Linked DNA regions of Homo sapiens: all the other regions are linked to region 4. Evidence: promoter capture Hi-C in 16 types of primary human blood cells and fetal thymus (Javierre and others, 2016). All regions are on one chromosome and are shown on one strand. Each heading gives the region's core, a stretch centred on a gene start or on the middle of the fragment in contact. The rest is flanking DNA. Distances are from core to core; before and after follow the strand shown.

Region 1 (3,169 bases), core at 640-3,139, 180 kb before region 4:
GATGATGTTCTCCAGGGCCTTTTAGCTCCAGGCTGCTACAGTTCTAAACTGGTGGTGGTGGTGGTGGTGGTGGTGGTTGTGGTGGTTGTTTTAGATGCAGTCTCACTCTTTTCCCCAGGCTGGGATGCAGTGGCATGATCTCGGCTCACTGCAACCTTCGCCTCCTGGGTTCAAGCGATTTTCCTGCCTGCGCCACCACGCACAGCTAATTTTTGTATTAGTAGAGTTGGGGTTTTGCCATGTTGGCCAGGCTGCTCTCGAACTCCTGACCTCAGGTGATCCGCTCACCTCAGCCTCCCAAAGTGCTGGGATTACAGATACGAGCCACCGCACCTGGCCATGATTGTTGTTTTTATAAAATCAGAATATAAAATTTGAAAATGTTCTTTTTTGGTGAGAAATGAGAACTACCAAAGGAGTAAAATGCTCTAAAAGCCATCAGGTCCTTCCCACAGTATTGAGGCTCTGCTCTTACCATTTTGTTAAATAAGTTTTGTTCCTAACACTCTTTGTGATATGAAGTATTCTTGCTAATCAAGCTGCCCGGAGACTGGCGTTTCCCAGAGCAGTTTCGAAAGTGGAAATGATGCTGCATTTCCTACCCACAGTCTGGAGGGTGGCTGTGCTCTCTGCACGGTGGGTCTGTGCTGCTCAGTTACGGGATGGTAAGGGAAGGCTCTAACTCGGTGTCTTACACCATGCACTAGGGAGTCGCCCGCTTTATTTACGAGCGAGTTGATGCTTTCAGTGGGTTTTGGCTTTGCCTGGTTCCAGACTCAAGCCCTTCCTCTAATGTAGGGCGGGTACAAGAGAGACTTGAGCAAGGATATTGGGATTTAAGGGAAGGGCAGTGCAGGCCAAGGTCAGCAAGAGGACATCTCTAAGATGAACAGCACTGCATTTGTGGGAAGCAACCCTGCCATAAACAACTCAGTTAACGTTTACATAGTAAATAATTGCATTGCCTTGGGCTGGAATAGGGACGCCAGAAGGTATAGGACCATGTGGAATTCAGAAAAGGGAGCCCTGAAGAATGAGATTTTATTGTTCTTACCAGGAGAGTCCAGGTGCTAGAGTTCTCTCCTTGTAAGTGACTAACCTTCTCCCTTTTGGTACACAATCCTCAGATGAACGGAGATGATTCATTAGGCCATTCTAGCTTAATGGATGCATCACTGTGCAACCACGCAAATGCCTCATTTCTGATTCACTCATTTAATATTTATTGAGGAGTGCTGGGTACTAGGCCATTAGAAGAACAAACAACAACAACATAGGCCTGGACCTTGCACTTGCAGAGTTCACAGGCTAGAGAGGCACACAAGTTAAATATAGAGACAGCTGAAAGAGCTGACGTCTGGGACAGAGGGAGCCCCCTGCTCCAGGAGCCAGGGAGCAGATGCCATGGGGGGCTGGCAGGGATAGGGAAGTCAGGCCAGGAATGGGGTTACCTAAGCCGGATCATGAAGGACGAGAACAGACTCACCAGGGGTCGAGGGACAAGGAGGCAGCAAGTCCGCAGCATGAAGGCAGGAGAGAACATTGCTGTAAGCCTTTACCATGGCCACTGCATGGGGAGGAAACAGGAGATTTGGAATGAGCTGTGACACTGGGCAGGAAAGCAAGACCCAGGTCTTGTGAGGCCTTGAGCGTCAAGCTTAGGAGTCAGGACCTGGGGATTTTAAGTACAGCAATATCATAATTACATTCATGTTTCAGAGAGATCACTCAGGCAGCAGTCTGGAAGGTGGAGTGGAAAACGGAGAAATTAGTCATGAAGACCTATTTAGAAAGTAGTAGGCAAGAAATACCCAGGGCCTAACCTGAGGTGTAGGCAGGGGATGGGAATGAGAGCAATTACCGAACTAGAATGAACTAAACTCAATGAACAGGAGCGGGGAAGAGGGAATGCAGAAATGGCTCTCAGATTTCTGACTTGTTCGCTTAATGACTGGGGTTGTCATTTGTTTAGATAAGCAATAAAGAACCTAGAAACAATTTTAGGCGGAAGATAGTTGTGTTGGGAGCCCCTAAGACCATGATTTATTACAGCACAAGGATACAAAGCAAAATTAGCAAAAGGAAACAGCACGTGGGGTCAAGTCCAGGGGAGCTCAGGCGCAAGCTTCCAGAGTACTCTCCCCATAGAGTCACACAAGATACACTTAGTTCCTCCAGCATTGAACTATGACGACACCTGAAATATTGTCTGCAGAAGAGGCTCATTAGAGACTCAGTCCCCAAGGTTTTTATTGGGTAATGGTCACGTACCAAATTTCAGTCTCTCAGAACAAAAGCAAATGTTCAGCATAGACCATTTTGTTTGTGAAATTTAGGCACAGTGAGCCCCTCTTGTCAGTTAGAGGATAGTTGAAACCCTCCCACAATCCAAGTTCTCAGACTCAGGCCTGCTACATTATTTCTTTCCTACACAGTAGTGGATTTGGTTACTAACATGTTGGATCTGAAGCATTTGTTGTAATTTACAGTGAAGATGTCCACTGCACAGTTCCGTATTGAGTCTGAGGTTCACTGGAGACATCTGTGCTATCAATGAAAGTTTCTGGAGTCATTAGCCCCTCAAAGGGTCATTAAAACCAGGTCTTCTAGAGAGAAAGTCTAACCCTGTATTCCTTTAAACCACCATAGAGACCATCTAGTTCTTCACATTATAAAAATGAGAAAACTGAGTCCCCAGCGATGTGGCTTGGTTGCACATTTTTCTATTTCAAGTCTGTTACTCCTTCCATCATACCAGACTGCCTCACAAAATGACAAAGTCAGGCATTGTTCATAAAAGAACAAAATGGCATTTAGGTTATAAATCAGGCCCTTGTAAGTTTGGTTAATACAACTTATTTCCCAAAGATCCTGGTCCTCAGACCCTCAAAAGGAGAGCTGATCACATCAAGGCCTCTACCTGGAAGGAATTTCTAAGCAGCCTCTAAGTCAACTGTTCATGTTCAGTCCACCTTGATTTACAAAGAACAGTGAATCATTAAGACCTTTCTCTCCAAGGCCGGGTGCGGTGGCTCACGCCTGTAATCCCAGCACTTTGGAAGGCCGAGGCGAGCGGATCACGAGGTCAGGAGATCGAGACCATTCTAGCTAATACGATGAAACCCCGTCTCTACTAAAAATACAAAAAAAATTAGCCAGGCTTGGTGGC
Region 2 (3,394 bases), core at 112-2,611, 220 kb before region 4:
TGAGTCACTTTAGAGAGGACTTTTTTTTTCCATGCTTTAAGTCTGATTTATTTAAACACGATGTGACCACTTTTGATGTTTAAAATGTATTCAGTGTTAGGGAGCGAAGTTCTGTATAAATGGTGAGTCTTTCTTTGAAAACATAGCTAAATGGATACAGATGCAAAACCACAAACATTTTCTTCACTAGGACCGACACCCGCGCTGAGATTGACTTGGTGTGTGAGCTTGCAAAGCGGGCTGGTGCCTTTGATGCAGTCCCCTGCTATCACTGGTCCGTTGGTGGAAAAGGATCGGTGGACTTGGCTCGGGCTGTGAGAGAGGCTGCGAGTAAAAGAAGCCGATTCCAGTTCCTGTATGATGTTCAGGTAAGATCTAGTAAAAACAATGGCTCACATTTCTTACACCTTAGCATGGGTTGTCCCATTCTGTTGTCACCACAACCCTACAGATAAGAAAACTAAAGATAGAAGAGTTTAGGCCCGGTGCAGTGGCTCACGCCTGTAATCCCAACACTTTGGGAGGCTAGGGCGGGCAGATCACTTGAGGTCAGGAGTTCGAGACCAGCCTGGCCAACATAGAGAAACCCCATCTCTACTAAAAATACAAAAATTAGGTGGGCATGGTGGCGTGCACCTATAGTCCCAGCTACTCGGGAGGCTGAGGTGGGAGAATTGCTTGAACCCAGGAGGTGGAGGCTGCAGTGAGCCAAGATCGAGATCACACCACTGCACTCCAGCCTGGGCGACAGAGTGAGACCCTGTCTCAAACAAACAAACAAAAAGGTAGAAGAGTTTAAGCCATATGACAAAGTCACATTTCCAAGTACAGACCCTAGCTCCTTGTCCCAAAGCCTGTGCTTTTGAAGACTCCCAAATCGCAGTCCTAAGTGAGGAGGTACTTTAGCGAACAGGATTTGACAGCTGACGCTTTCAGGAGTTGCACAGGAACAAGAGCAATTTCGTGAGGATTGGGAAACCATGGGAGGTATTTTCCTTGTTCATTTCTCTTTTTTTTTTTTGAGACAGTCTCTGTTGCTCAGGCTGGAGTACAGTGGTGCAATCTCGGCTTACTGCAACCTCTGCCTCCCAGGTTCAAGCACTTCTCTGCCTCAGCCTCCTGACTAGCTGGGATTACAGGCACCTGCCAACACGTCTGGCTAAGTTTTTGTATTTTTAGTAGAGACGGGGTTTCACCATCTTGGGCAGGCTGGTCTCAAACTCCTGATCTCATGGTTCACCCACCTCGGCCTCCCAAAGTGCTGGGATTATAGGCATGAGCCACCACACCTGGCCTCTGCTTGTTCATTTCTGTTATGGTTCTTTTCTCTTGTGGTTTTATTGAACTATGTCTAGTGTATGTGTGTGTATATATACATACATAATATATTTATTTATTTTCATTGTGGTAAATATATATATAACAAAATTTACTATCTTAGCCTTTTTTTTTTTTTTTTTTTTTTGAGACAGAGCCTTGCTCTGTTGCCCAGGCTGGAGTGCAATGGCGTGATCTCGGCTCACTGCAACCTCCACCTCCCGGGTTCAAGCAATTCTTCTGCCTCAGCCTCCCAAGTAGCTGGGACTACAGGCGCAAGCAAGCGTGCCTGGCTAATTTCTTTTTTATTTTAGTAGAGTCGGGGTTTCACCGTGTTGCCCGGGCTGGTCTCGAACTCCTGAGCTCCGGCAGTCCACCCGCCTCGGCCTCCCAGAGTGCTAGGGTTGCAGGCGTGAGCCACCACACCTGGCCCATCTTAACCATTTTTAAGTGCACGTCAGTAGTGTTAAGTACATTCACATTGTCATGCAGCCAATCTCCAGAACGCTTTTCATCTTGCAAAACTGAAACTGTACCCACTGAACAACTCCCCATGCCCCTCCCTACAGTCCCTGCCAGCTACCATTCTCCTTCATTTCCATGAATGTAACAACTCCAGGGACCTCATGTAAGTAGCATCATACTGTGGCTGGCTTATTTCACTTAGCATAATGTGCGTGCATGTTGTAGAGTGTCAGAATTTCCCTTCTTTTTTTTTTTTGAGATGGAGTTTCGCTTTTGTTGCCCGGGCTGGAGTGCAGAGGCACCATCTCAGCTCACCGCAACCTTCTGCTCTCGGGTTCAAGCAATTCTCCTGCCTCAGGCTCCCGAGTAGCTGGGATTACAGGCGTGCACCACCACGCCCAGCTAATTTTTGTATTTTTAGCAGAGACAGGGTTTCACCATGTTCGTCAGGCTGGTCTCAAACTCCTGACCTTGTGATCCACCCACCTCGGCTTCCCAAAGTGCTGGGATTACAGGTGTGAGCCACCGCGCCCGGCCAGAATTTCCTTTATTTTTCGGGCTGAATACGCTCCCATTCTTTGGATATCCCACATTTTGTTTCTTTGTCCATCTGTGGATGGACACTTGAGCTCCCCCTCACAGCTATTGTAAGTAATGCTGTATGAGCATGCGTGTTTATGGCATATGGCATATGTACAAGTATCCCTTCAAGACCGTGTTTTCTTTTTTTTTTTTTTTTTTTTTTGAGACGGAGTCTTGCTCTGTCGCCCAGGCTGGAGTGCAGTGGCGCAATCTCGGCTCACTGCAAGCTCCGCCTCCCGGGTTCATGCCATGTTTTCAATTCTTTTGGAAATGTATTCCCAGAAGTGGGATTGCTGGGTCCTCTAGGATATTTTTAAGCACATGTCGATGGTTCAGTCAGAAGACCTGAGCTTCCCAGGGCTCACTCTCCTCCTCAGATCGTCTGTCTTTGCACCCGTCTGACATCTCCATTCTGAATTTTGTGGTTCCGATTCTGGCTGATGGATTTGTCTTCAGGGGTAGTGCATGATTGTGGAGTGCCCAGGCTTCAAGCTGATTGCTGCTTCTCCTGTTCCTTCATCCCTCACATATTCTATTGTTGAGTCACTCAGATGTCACAGACACTCTTCTTTCCTGTTCAGTGGCATAAATCAATAGCATAAGTGAAGAAGAAATCCGTGAAGCAAGAGCTTAGCAGCGTTGTTGATAAGCCTGGAGTCACAGTGGTGAGAGAACGGGGCTGATGTATTAATATTTAATATTACCACAGCTCTCGCTTTTAAGGAGTTGTTTGTGAGCTGGGTATATGGGCGCTTTGCACATGTTCACCTCTTTGGTCCTAACATCCCTCTTAGGTGGAAACTGGTGATATCTTCCCATTTTACAGACAAGAAAACTAAAGCACGAAGAGACTAAGTCAACTGCTCAGTGTCCCATAGCTAGGAAGAGGCAGAGCTGGGAGAAAGAATATCCAGATGGTTGAGGTCATCACCCTGCTCTGTTCTTCAGAGCTAAGTACTGTGCTCAAAAGTGTGTGTGTATTGGAGGTCTGGGGGGAGACATAGTTAAAGGGGACAGTGACTGAGTGACC
Region 3 (3,219 bases), core at 3-2,502, 240 kb before region 4:
TGAAAAAATTTAAAAGCCAAAAATCACTTCAGTCTGGTGCCAACCATTTTTGCATAATTGCATTTTCCATGTTGCATTTTGCAACCATTTTGCATAATTCTGTACTTCTTTCCCTTTTGGGTTTGTTTTCATAACTGCTCAGTAAAAAGTGTTCTGTGTCATCTTTCCATTATTTTGGGCTAAATCATGTTAATGGCCAAGCCTGTCAGAATTCATTTGTTTTGAGTTAACTTCCTGGTGTCCAGTTCTCAGGAGTTGCAAGAATAGAGCTCTTCCCTCATGCAATCATCCAAAATCCCAGGCCTCTAACCAGGATTGGGGAACACCACTGTTGGCCAAGAGCAGAAGGCTTAAAGCTCTGGTCATAGTCATGGCACTGTACAAACTGTTCTTGTTCCCTACAAGAACATGGGAACTATTTGGATAATGGATTTATGAATTTAATTCTGATGGATTTTTATAAAGGAGCTAAAAATAAGCCTATATAATTTATTACATGTATAATCATATAATTTTAAATGTGTATAATTTATAATATTCATCGAAACATTTCTTTTTGGAAATTAAATTTCACTTTGGTCAAAATCATCTTACAAAACAAGATGACTCATGATGGTTCTAAATAATGTAAACCGGTGTCTGTAACTAATTAATGCTCTGGAGGAAGGAAATTCTGAGTTCTGACACAAAAGCACGTCTAAGTGGTATTGGTATTTTCAAAGCTTTTACTACAACCAAAAATATGTTCACGTGTACCTGTCTCCTCTTTACACTGCTTACTTTCTCTATCGCTTTTCCCAAATACGTCCCCAGTAACTTCCTCATGTTCTGTGCACCACCTCCAATCTTCCCCTAATGTGTATGAACTTGGTCATCACCAAAGAGGTGGAAAGGAAGAAGGGCATGTGCTAATATTAATATTGAGGTTTGGGCTGGGTGTGGTGGCTCATGCCTGTAATCCCAGAATTTTGGGAAGCCGAGGCAGGTGGATCACGAGGTCAAGACATTGAGACCATCCTGGCCACATGGTGAAACCCCGTCTCTACTAAAAATACAAAAATTAGCTGAGTGTGATGGTGCACAACTGTAGTCCCAGCTACTCGGGAGGCTGAGGCAGGAGAATTGCTTGAACCAGGGAGGTGGAGGTTGCAGTGAGCCGAGATCGTGCCACTGCACTCCAGCCTGGCAACAGGGAGAGACTCTGTCTCAAAAAAAAAAAAAAAAAGAAAAAAATTGAGGTTTGTGCCAGTTTCTTTTTCCTTTAGGTCTCCTGATATGTGTCTAGTTAGTTCTATATACTTCCTGGAAATTCGACTCCAAGATATTTAATAAAACTAAACAGGGTTATATGTTGAATAGACAAATCCTAAAGAGCAGAAAGGATTTAGTGGTTAGTGAAATTTCATTGACTTAAGATGAGTTGGATCCTCAAAATTAATATATTCTAAACAAAGTTCTATTTTTAAGCTGCAGTAATAATGCCGAATTTCTCTTATAGTTAATTGAATGATTTATCCTGGTGTTGTCTCCTGGTAGTCACTGAAAAAGTCATTACAATCCTCACTTTCTCCCCTTTAATTCAAGTTCAGAATTCATGTGTTGCTGTGACTTTTTTTGAGTTTATCTGCAGACAGCTGCCATTGAATAAACATGTTTATATAGGGCAGAAAAAGGCAGCCTGAAGATTCTACTTTCTATTTCTTTTAGCACTGTTTGGCAGTTAACACCAACAGCGCTTCAGAATGAGGTACTGTCCAGCATACACCTTGCTTGTTCCTCTACAAAGCTTCTATTTTTGTTTTTGATTTGTTGTGAGGAAGCAAAGTGTAGCCTTTACTTGAATGAAAGCTACAGTTTTATTTTTCTTTCTTATTTACAAGAAATTCTTTTGATGATTAAGTTAGCCAGATACGCCCCGTGCGCTCATATTTCTTAACCTATTTTGAGCTGAGCTAGTTGCAAGGACTAGTTCTTCTGTGAAACCTCTGGCAGTCCATAAATTCAAGTTCGTGTCCAGACGTAATGGTGAACTCAATATGTTGTATATTTGATATATGTTTGTTGCACACATGGAGAGAAAAGTTGCTACCATTGTGAAGTAGCCATGAAATCCGACAGTTCTAATTTCTTTATCTTCTGAGTACCCATGGAATAAAGGACCTCTTAGTGCCATAGCAAGGCAGAAGTTTAATTTGCAATTCTGGTGGCAACATCCAGGTATTTCAAGTAGAAATTAAGAAAACTTTACGGAAAAACTATCTCAGCACTTCAGTTTAACTATTTTTCAAAGTCCAAGGAGGGTTTTCCCCAGTGTAAAAGCAGAAATGAGAATTTCAGATCTAAAGCGGTTCTTGCCTTTTCTTTTCCCTCCATGCACATGTGCTGACAACAGAAAGTAAAATTTGAAAAGAAAACCCAGGCTAGAGCATTGGGGTCACTCATTTCCCATCCAGCGAAGGGAGAGCTGGTGCCTGGCTGGGGGAGGTTAGGAAGGCAAGTCTTGGGATCTGATCACTCGGCTGGGAGTGGGTAAAATACCTGGACCTCAGGAGGCCGGATTGCAGCGCCAGTGTTCTCTACCTGTGTGGCCTGTTCCTGCCTGGGGTTGGGTACCAAGTCCAGGTGGAAGTGGTCCCTGGAGCATCCTCTCTCTGAAGTGTTTCTTTGTCAAACAGAATACTCCCTGCTGCTGCCCCAGAACTCATCACTGTTGACACATGGACCAAGAACTAGCAGAGGAGGTGATTTATAATCTCTAAATGAATTGCTCTAAAAGAGACAACAAGCACTCTGACTTAAGTAAAGGAAGGGAGGGTGGGTGGAAAGGAAGGAGGATCATAAAGAACATTCTAGATTGCATACTTTGGTAATCACAGCAGGGCCTTATTGCAGTTAGAACAAAAGCCTGGACACACTTACCTCTCAGTTCAGGAAAATAATTTAGAGCTACTTGTTAAATGCTGGAGTATTATTGAAGTACCAAGTGTTAAGATTTTCACTGAAAGCAAAACTGACCAAGCAGCTCAGCTAGGGAAATGCTATGTGATCAGTTGATTGTTTGATGAGGAGTATGGAGCAGGGACTTTGGCAGAGGTTGCTAGCAGACAGGCCTTGGTTTTAGTCCAAGCTCTATCGCTTAATAGCTGTGTGACCTTGGGGAAAATTATAAAATTTTCCAGTCCTTAGTATCATAAACTGTAAATGGAGGAGAAAGATGCC
Region 4 (3,644 bases), core at 401-2,900:
GGTCCAAATGCCACGTTTCAGTAACACCTCTGAGAGGAGAGAACACAGTTGATTGAAAGGGAAGGGGAGTGCCATGCGGTGGTGAAGCGTGGACCCTGAAAGCAGATGCCAGTTGGACTTCCTGCTCTTCCAACTCCTGGCTGTGAAACCTGAAGCACACAATTTAATTTCTCCGGGCCTACTCCTCCCCCTCCTGCCAATGGTAAAATGAGAATAATACTATCTATCCCATGGGGTTATTGTAAAGATTATTATGTAAAGTGCATTGAACAGTGCCTGGTACAGAGTAAGAATTCTAATGTTTCCTAAATAGTCAAAATTTAAGTCAAAATGGGGGAAATGTGTATAAATTCCTAAAACTAAGCATTTTGCAAATATACTGTTTCTTAAGAGATAAACTCCAGAGAAATTGGCCTTCGTGTAGTCCTTTAAATAAAAATAATTAATTCAGAAAACAGGCCCAGTGTGGTGGTTCACACCTATAATCCCAGCACTTTGAGAGGCCAAGGCAGGAGGATCGCTTGAGCTCAGGAGTTCAACACTAGCCTGGGCAACACAGCGAGACCTTGTCTCAAAAAAAGAAAAAGAAAAAAAATTAATTCAGAAAACAAATTTGATGGTGAGTAACTAACCTATGGTTCCCAGGGTACCATTCGATTCATGCAATTCATTAGGCATGAAACATCCTAGTGCTGAACTACTGCTTACACCCTTTCTACAAAATTGTACTAAATCTGAGTATGAGATATTTATCTGGAATTTGGTGTGAATATTCCGAAAGTTTCTTCCTTCTTTCTTTCTTTTTTTTTTTTGACAGAATCTTGCTCTGTCGACTAGGATGGAGTGCAGAGGCACAGTCATAGCTCACTGCAGCCTCGAATTCCTGGGCTGAAGTCATCCTTCTACCCCAGCGTCCCCAGCCTCCTGAGTAGCTAGGACTACAGGTGCACCACTGCGCCTGGCTAATTTTTTTATTTTTTGTAGAGACAAGGTCTCGCTATGTTAACCAGGCTGGTTTCTTCATTCTTAATGGAGATTCAAAGTATTTGTGAAAACTGGGGCACTCGGTTGCTAGTTACAACTGGAATAAATTTTGTCTTTCAGCCCCAAAGCCTTAATGCTTTGCGCCAAGCAATCCAGCTACAAATTTAATTTAGTTCAAATACTTATTGATTGGCTGCCATGCTCATGTAATACATATTATATTCAAGGGTCGGAAATGAAAGGATGCAAGCCACTTGTGCTGGTATTATTTAAAGTCTTCATCTTTTGAGAAAGGCTGACGGCAAAGGAACAGATCTATGCTGTCATGTGTCGGCATCGCGCGGAGCAGAGGTGGCCTGGATGGGTAACTTCCAGCACAGGCCCTCAAAGAAGGACGGGCACATTTCCGGTAACAGCCTCATTTCCCCCCGTTCCCCGGGGGAAGGGGGGCGGCTAGCACTGCTGATGGCATCGCCTGACATCACTTGTTCCGGAGGATAGGAGAGCGTGGGCCTGCGTGGCCCACCTCATCCGTGGCCTGACTGCGTTAACCTCTCGGTTCCCTGCTCTTGCCACGTGAGGTGCCCAAATATGGTCGGACTCAGGAGGAGCCAGGGAGCGCTTGCCTTTCTCCTGCTAATGGGGAGGAGGCTGGAACAAATGTTTGGAGTTAAACACAATCTGCAGGAAAGCAAATGGGGACTCGGACTCGCTCCTGGGCGAGCTGAAAGTCGGCTGCAGCAGAAGCTCCTGCCTTGGGTGATCCATCATTTAATAAACCCCAGAGAATCCAGTGTCCCCGGCAGGCTTTTTGCTCCCCTGCTCTCTTGCCTTCTGAGGCCCTGGGTCGTCCCCGCAGCTCTAGTCGCCCTGTTAGAAACGGGAGGCGCCCGAGGGCCGGGTGGGCGGCTGCCTGGACCTGGGCTGGCGCGTCGCAGCGCCTCTGGTCCCGGCAGCCTGGGGGCAGATGCTGCTGCAGGGCGTGTCTGGGGCTGTGCTCATGTGATGAAGCGAGGGAAAAACCGGGGGGAGGGGGGCGGAGGCTAAGAGGTGGCCTTTTTTTTTTTTTCCTTTTCTTTTAAGGAGTTTGCCGCGAGCGCGTCTCCTTCATTCGCAGGCTGGGCGCGTTCGCAGTCGGCTGGCGGCGAAGGAAGGCGCTCTCGGGACCTCGCGGGCGCGCGTCTTTTGGCTCTTGCCCCTGTCCCTGCGGCTTGGGGAAGGCGTAACCCGGCGGCTAGGCGCGGGAGAAGTGCGGAGGAGCCATGGGCGCCGGGAGCTCCACCGAGCAGCGCAGCCCGGAGCAGCCGCCCGAGGGGAGCTCCACGCCGGCTGAGCCCGAGCCCAGCGGCGGCGGCCCCTCGGCCGAGGCGGCGCCAGACACCACCGCGGACCCCGCCATCGCTGCCTCGGACCCCGCCACCAAGGTACGGGCGTGCCGGGCCACCTGCGCCGGGAGGCGCGGGTCTTTGGGGGTGGGGGTGGGGGTGGGGGGGTCCCTCCGATTTCCGCCGAGAGAACTTCCCAGCCCATCCAGCCGCATCTGCAAACTCAGGAGTGCGAACCCCTCTTTGGAGGCTTTTCAGGGTCTTTCGCGCCGGGGCGGGGCCAGAGCAGCGGCGAGCGCGGCGGGGGGCTTGCATCTTTGTCGCGGGTCTCCAGGGGAGGCGACTGCGCCATGCGCAATAATAAAACCCGCGCCCTGCCCACGGCGGCTGAGCCTTTCTGCGCACTCTTCCGGTGGGAGCCATGCAGCCCGAGGCGGAGGAGCTGCGCGGAGGGGGATCCGTGGAGAATGGACCCCGGGCCGGGCCTCCGGAGCTCCGAGATGCGGAAAGTCAGCTGTGAGGCCAGGACTCGTGGTGGAGCCCGCCGGGGAGCCCAGCCACCCTCGGGTTCCCCGTCGCGTACCGCCCTGGATGCCAGCGGTGCCTGGAGCGAGCGGGTTTGGTACCCAGTCCTCCTGCGGCAGCGGCCCGAGCAGGCACCGCCTTCCCGAGGCAGAGAAAGCCTGGGGTGTAGCTCGCTCAGAGCCAGGAAAAACCTGGGCAGGCGCTGCGTTTCCAGAAGGAATGACAGGTTTCGCAAACCAGCCAGCGCCCTCGCGTTCGCTCAGCGCTTTGCCTGCAGACTCAGTTGGCCAAACACACGCTAGAGTGGCTAGAAGTTCTCAAAGGATGGGGTCAGTGTAACGAGCATTCCGGGTACTCTTCCCTGGACGCAGTGCTGAAACGACTGCATTTTATCGGCTTCAGTCTTCAAGGCTGGAATATTTCTTGTGGGCCAGGACAGCCGCCAAGACTGTGGCTTGTTCTGGTCGTGGTATTTTAGATCTATTTTCCAGCGCATGTGTTCATTAGCAAGGCTTCACTCTACTGATTTTGTGATACCCTTGTATCACAAAGGTACCCTTGTGATACCTTGTAGAAAGATGTGGATAACCATGTTTAATAGTTAAATTTGCGGTATGTCAAATTTGAGGATAGAGTACGTGAGTTATCGCAGGAGGTGTAGATGTTTACAATATGCAAAAAAAAAAAAAAAAAGGAACCTACAACCATGACCTAATTGCCTTGACCTCCTTAGCTGCCCTAGTCTCTTTTGGGCTGAGAGACTGCTGTTAATAATATAGTTTTTACCGCCAGTCTTTGATTCATAACTAC

The links. Contacts are between HindIII fragments. The CHiCAGO score rates a contact against its expected background, and 5 or more counts as called.
Region 1: a contact is called between a fragment that was not itself captured here and the fragment with the promoter of AKAP12 in region 4, in 1 of 17 cell types (endothelial precursors). The highest score is 7.0, in endothelial precursors.
Region 2: a fragment that was not itself captured here is called in contact with the fragment with the promoter of AKAP12 in region 4 in 2 of 17 cell types (endothelial precursors and megakaryocytes); the score reaches 14.0 in endothelial precursors.
Region 3: a contact is called between a fragment that was not itself captured here and the fragment with the promoter of AKAP12 in region 4, in 1 of 17 cell types (endothelial precursors). The highest score is 6.2, in endothelial precursors.

What each region holds. Positions count from the first base shown.
Region 1 is chr6:151,059,138-151,062,306 of GRCh38, forward strand. The region is part of intron 26 of MTHFD1L (methylenetetrahydrofolate dehydrogenase (NADP+ dependent) 1 like); the gene reads left to right. Among named protein-coding and RNA genes, the nearest start is that of MIR12131, 42 kb to the right of the region's middle. RefSeq lists enhancers at 929-2,128, 2,376-2,545 and a cis regulatory region at 2,461. The HindIII fragment of the contact is 468 bases long and covers 1,656-2,123 here.
Region 2 is chr6:151,015,326-151,018,719 of GRCh38, forward strand. It overlaps MTHFD1L (methylenetetrahydrofolate dehydrogenase (NADP+ dependent) 1 like), which reads left to right. Exons shown (of 28, transcript NM_015440.5): 24 at 191-368. Among named protein-coding and RNA genes, the nearest start is that of MIR12131, 86 kb to the right of the region's middle. The HindIII fragment of the contact is 4,585 bases long and covers 1-3,394 here.
Region 3 is chr6:150,999,128-151,002,346 of GRCh38, forward strand. The region is part of intron 20 of MTHFD1L (methylenetetrahydrofolate dehydrogenase (NADP+ dependent) 1 like); the gene reads left to right. Among named protein-coding and RNA genes, the nearest start is that of MIR12131, 100 kb to the right of the region's middle. The HindIII fragment of the contact is 1,064 bases long and covers 721-1,784 here.
Region 4 is chr6:151,238,317-151,241,960 of GRCh38, forward strand. AKAP12 (A-kinase anchoring protein 12) reads left to right here and starts at 1,651. Exons shown (of 5, transcript NM_005100.4): 1 at 1,651-1,743; 2 at 2,068-2,408. The coding sequence starts at 2,247. RefSeq lists enhancers at 1,454-1,963, 2,041-2,618. The HindIII fragment of the contact is 4,204 bases long and covers 1-3,644 here.